Linked DNA regions of Homo sapiens: region 2 is linked to region 1. Evidence: promoter capture Hi-C in human tissues and cell types (Jung and others, 2019). All regions are on one chromosome and are shown on one strand. The core of a region is centred on a gene start or on the middle of the fragment in contact, and the rest is flanking DNA. Distances in the headings are between cores, read along the strand shown. Region 1 holds the start of AATK (apoptosis associated tyrosine kinase). Region 2 has its middle 7.5 kb from the start of ACTG1.

Region 1 (2,700 bases), core at 13-2,512:
CCTGCCAGGCTGCGTGCACTGGGCCCTGCTCCAGGGAAGGAGACACAGGAGATCACGTCACATGCAAACAGGCTTTGTTTGGGCTGGCTCAGCCTGGTGCCAGAGCCCCAGTGACGTGTGGGTGGGACTTGGCCCTGGGGCCATGGATGGCACAGGGCAGGGGGATTATCTCCCACTCAGGCCAAGCAGGGGCCGGATCTGGAGAAGCAGAGGTTTTAGAAAGCCCACTGCTTCCTGGTGACAGATGGGGCTTCCAGCTGTCCCCAGCCCCCTCTGCCTATCCCAGCTGTCCACCACAGCCAGGAGGCCAGGCAGCCATGGGTAATCTCGCCCTGCCCGGTGCACTGGCCATACGGGGTAAGAGGCCTGGCCTCAGGTCCCCTGCAGCCAGCTTGACAGCGTCACCTCGGGCCCCCACTGTCAGGGGATCTGGGCACCCACCAAGGCCCCTCTCTTCTGAGCCTCTGCCCACTGGGCTCTGTAATGTGGACTGGCCCCTGCTCCCCCCACATCCCCCGCCGGCTGCTGGTGGCTGGGCAGGGCTCTGAGAATCGCTCCCAGCCTGGGAAGAAGCCTCCCACGCCAGGGCCCCGGACCCAGGAGAGGCCATGGAAAGCCTGAACCCCAGCTGGCTGACACCCCCCACACCCCCAAGGGCCCTTAGTCTGAGACCAACTCTCCTGGACACCAGGGGCCCACGCAGGCCCTCCGTGCCCCAGTTACCTGTGCCCTGGAGGCAGCCACGGAGTCACGACCACGCGGGGGACGCCAGCCCACAGGCGGAGGCCGGTTTGTGCTGGGGCCCAGGGCCTGCCCCTCCGAGATCTGGGGCCGCCAGGGGGTCCGGCTGCTTCTGCTGCTGGGCTCGGGGCGGGGAAAGGGTTAATTTCCATGCAAACCGGGAGCCGTGGGGCCCAGGGGCATCACGTCCGCAGCGGAGGGAGGCAGCGGCGCGCAGGCCGGGCCGCCAGGGACTCACCGGGGTCGAAGTGCGAGCTGAAGGCGAAGCTGGGGTTGAAGAAGGACGACGACATGGCCGGGCCAGCGGCCGGCGGGCATCCCGGGAGGGCGCTGCGCTCAGGACGCCCGCGGCCCCGGCCCGAGCCGCCGCATCACCCAGCGGCCGCCGCAGGTGCGGAGCGCGCCGGCCCCCGCGCCCCGCGCCCCCCGCCGCAGCCGCAGAGCCCGCACCGGTGGGGGCGGCGGCGACAGACGAGGCGCTCCGCCCGGCCCTGGCGCCGCGGGGCTCCGCTGGTGCAGTCCGAAAACGCGGGCGGGAGCGCGCGCGGAGCGGCGCGGGGGAGGGGGGGGCCCTCCGCGGCCGGGGTGGCATGGGGGGAGCACGGAGAGGGGGACACGGAGGGGGAGACAGAGGGGAGCACGGAGTGGGGGACACAGAAGGGGGCTTGGAGGGGGGACACGGAGGGGAGGCATGGAGGAGGGGGGACGGGGGGCCGTGCACGGAGCGGGGATGGCACGGAGTGGGGGGATGGTCCGGAGCGGGAAGCACGGCGGCCTGGGGCTGAGGGGGGCACGGAGGCTGGCGGGGGGGGGGGAAACGGAAGTCGTGAATGGTAAGTCGTGAGTGGGTACGGAGGGAACGCCGGGGTGGGGGAGGGGGTACTCCTAGGTGGAAAGGTTCAGGGAGACAGGTGGGGGAACCCGGGAGCACACCCAGGGCGGGTCTTGGTGCTCAGGGGCCCTCGCCTCACTTGCAGGTTTCGAGGCGGCTGGCAGCCGCCCCCCCACCCCATGCCCTTTGGGTGGCACCTGTGCTGGTGGAGTGGGGGTGGCTGGCTTTGCACACAGGCCTGCTCCTGTACCGTGCTGCGACAGCCATGAAGGAAGAACCTGGCTGAGTCTCCACCTGCCGTGGACTGTACCAGGTGCTTAGGGCAGCAGGTTGGCCTGGGCGCTGAGGGGCCATCCCTTCCCCTATGTTTCTCCCAGGATCCCCCATCCCCGCCCAAAGTGCCACCTTGCAGGGTTGGGGCGGGGCAGGGTCCCCCCAGCCTGCCCCCGTGGGAGTCGGGAGAGTTAAAGTTCAGTGGAAGCTGGTCCCAGTGGCTCATGCCTGTAATCCCAGCACTTTGGGAGGCCAGGGCAGGCGGGTGGCTTGTGCTCAGGGGTTCCAGACCAGCCTGGGCAACATAGCAAGACACTTTCTCTACAAAAATTAGAAAAATGAGCCAGGCATGGTGGCGCTCACCTGTAGTCTCAGCTACTTGGGAGGCTGAGGTGGGAGGATCACTTGAGCCTGGGAGTTAGAGGCCGCAGTGAGCCAAGATGGCACCACTGCACTCCAGCCCGGGTGACAACAAGATCTTGTCTCAAAAAAAGTGTCCTGGAGACTTGCAGTTGAGTTTGATGCACCCTCATCCACTCATTCATTCACTCACTCATTCATTCACTCACTCATTCATTCACTCACTCATTCTGGGACCAGATGGCTAAGCCCCTTGGCAAGGCCCAGTTGGGGTTGGGGGCTGTGGAGCAGGTGAGAGGCGCCCACTCCAACAGGGCTCTTAGGACTTTAGGGAGAGAAAGGAGCCTGTTCCCGGCAGAGGGACCTGCAGAGACCAGGACAGGATGCTTGGGCCACGGGGCAGATGGGCACCAGGACCCACCCTTCTTTTCCTAAGGGGGTCCCTCATGTAGGAAGTTTCCTCCTAACAGGCAAAGCAAGGGGCCTCCACCCTG
Region 2 (2,700 bases), core at 34-2,533, 340 kb after region 1:
AGGGAGAAAGGGAAAGAAAAGAAGAAAAGAAAAGAAAAGGCCAGGTGCAGTGCCTCATGCCTGTAATCCCAGCACTTTGGAAGGCCAAGGTGGGCAGATCACCTGAGGTCAGAAGTTCAAGACCAGCCTGGCCAACCAACATGGTGAAACCCTGGCTCTACAGAAAATACAAAAATTAGTGGGGCATGGTGGTGGGCACCTATAATCCCAGCTACTTGGGAAGCTGAGGCAGGAGAATCGCTTGAACCCAGAAGGTGGAGGTTACAGTGAGCCGAGATCACACCACCGGACTCCAGTCTGGGCAACAAGAGCAAAACTCCATTAAAAAAAAGAAAGAAATAGGCCAGGCGCAGTGGCTCACGCCTGTAATCCCAGCACTCTGGGAGGCCGAGACAGGCAGATCACGAGGTCAGGAGATCAAGACCATCCTGGCTAACACGGTGAAATCCCATCTCTACTAAAAATACAAAAAAAAAATTAGCCAGGCGTGGTGGTGGGCGCCTATAGTCCCAGCTACTCAGGAGGCTGAGGCAGGAGAATTGCTGGAAACTGGAGGCGGAGGCCGCACTCCAGCGGCGAGAGAGTGAGACTCCATCAAAAAAGAAAGGGAGGGAGGGAAGGAGGGAAGGAGAGAAGGAGGGAGGGAGGGAGAGGAGGAGAGGAGAAAAGAGGGAGGGGAGGGGAGTGGAGGGGGAGAATAATTTGTAACCACTAATGAAATAGCAGGTCCTGGCAGGGATTTCCAATGGCTGCTAATATCACAACATCAGGCTCTGTGGGACTCTTTCCCTCTCCATGAAGTTGCACCCACCCTGTGGTCATCTTCTTGCTAAAAAAATCAACCTGAATGAGATTAAACAGACCAGTTTGGACATTTACACCTAGAGCTAACTGACTATAGGAAATATAAGGGTTGAGGAACGTGCCACATCAACCACAAGGACGAAATCAGCAAAATCCAGACAGGTGGAACCCTTTGGAACAAAAGACCTGCCTTCTTCCACAAATAACCTGAAAGGAGAAAAATGAAAGAGGGTAAATCCCGCGGTTAAAAGAGATTTAAGAGACATAGTGGCCAAGTGCAATGATTGGAAACCAACCGTTAAAAGAAATTTAGGTGGGTCGCGGTGGCTCACGCCTGTAATCCCAGCACTTTGGGGGGCCGAGGCGGGTGGATCACGAGGTCAGGAGATCGAGACCATCCTGGCCAACACGGTGAAACCCCGTCTCTACTAAAAATACAAAAAAAATACAAAAAAATACAAAAAAAATACCCCGTCTCTACTAAAAATACACCAGCCGGGCGTGGTGGTGGGCGCCTGTAGTCCCAGCTACTCGGGAGGCTGAGGCAGGAGAATGGCATGAACCCAGGAGGCGGAGCTTGCAGCGAGCCGAGATCACACCACTGCACTCCAGCCCGGGTGACAGAGTGAGACTCCGTCTCAAAAAAAAAAAAGAAAGAAATTTAAGGCTGGGCATGGTGGCTCACACCTGTAATCGCCACATTTTAGGAGGCTGAGGTGAGAGGATCTCTTGAGACCAGGAGCTTGAGACCAGCCTAAGCAACATAGGGAGACCCCATCTCTACAGAAAGTTTAAAAATTATCTGGGCATGGTGGTGCACGCCTGTAGTCCCAGCTACTCAAGCGGCTGAGGTGGGAGGATTGCTTGAGCCTAGGAAGTCGAGGCTGCAGTGAGCTGTGATTGTGCCACTGCACTCTAGCCTGGGCAACAAAGCAAGACCCTGTCCCCCCAAAAAAACAGACAAACAAAACAACAACAAAAAATTTAAGACAACCAAGGAAATTTGGACATTAGATGATACTAAGTATCGATCAATAATTGGTGGGTGGGGGCATGATACTGTGATTTTTTTTTTTTTTTTTTTTTTTTTGAGATAGAGTCTTGCTCTGTCACCCAGGCTGGAGTGCAGTGGCTCAATCTCGGCTCACTGCAACCTCTGCCATGTGGGTTCAAGCAATTCTCCTGCCTCAGCCTCTGGAATAGCTGGGATTACAGGCGCACGCCACCATGCCTGGCTAATTTTTGTATTTTTAGTAGAGATGGGTTTCACCATGTTGGCCAGGCTGGTCTTGAACTCCTGACCTCGTGATCCGCCCGTCTCGGCTTCCCAAAGTGGTGGGATTACAGGAATGAGCCACCGCGCCCAGCTTGTGGTTGTTTTTTCAAAAAGAGTCCTAGGCTGGGTGCAGTGGCTCATGCCTGTAATCCCAGCACTTTGGGAGGCCTAAGCAGGAGGACCATTGAGTCCAGGAGTTCAGCCTGGGCAACATAGTGAGATGCTGTCTCCAAAAAAAACACAAAAGCAAACAAACAAAAGGCCATGGAGGAGGCCAATCCCCAGCTGTGCTGAGCCAGGATCAGATTCTCTCAGCCCCTTTCAGCAGCACCTGTCCTCCTCTGAGTCAATATATTGCTGTTGCAGCCGGGCGCGGTGGCTCATGCCTGTAATCCCAGCACTTTGGGAGGCCGAGGTGGACGGATCACCTGAGGTCAGGAGTTTGAGACCAGACTGACCAACATGGAGAAACCCCATCTCTACCGAAAATACAAAATTAGCTGGGCGCGGTGGCGCATGCCTGTAATCCCAGCTACTTGGGAGGCTGAGGCAGGAGAATCGCTTGAACCCAGGAGGTGGAGGTTGTGGTGAGCTGAGATTGCGCCATTGCACTCCAATTG

The links. The method cuts DNA at HindIII sites, captures the fragments that hold promoters and counts their contacts. A contact is called where the count stands out against the background at its distance.
Region 2: a contact is called between a fragment that was not itself captured here and the fragment with the promoter of AATK in region 1, in 2 of the 25 tissues and cell types used here (dorsolateral prefrontal cortex and small bowel).

Annotation. Positions count from the first base shown.
Region 1 is chr17:81,164,959-81,167,658 of GRCh38, forward strand. It overlaps AATK (apoptosis associated tyrosine kinase), which reads right to left and starts at 1,263. Exons shown (of 14, transcript NM_001080395.3): 1 at 980-1,263. The coding sequence starts at 1,034. PVALEF (parvalbumin like EF-hand containing) reads left to right here and starts at 549. Exons shown (of 7, transcript NM_001354639.2): 1 at 549-789; 2 at 1,719-1,886. RefSeq lists enhancers at 1-60, 61-804. The HindIII fragment of the contact is 13,495 bases long and covers 1-2,700 here.
Region 2 is chr17:81,503,926-81,506,625 of GRCh38, forward strand. No RefSeq gene overlaps it. Among named protein-coding and RNA genes, the nearest start is that of ACTG1, 7.5 kb to the right of the region's middle. The HindIII fragment of the contact is 9,311 bases long and covers 1-2,700 here.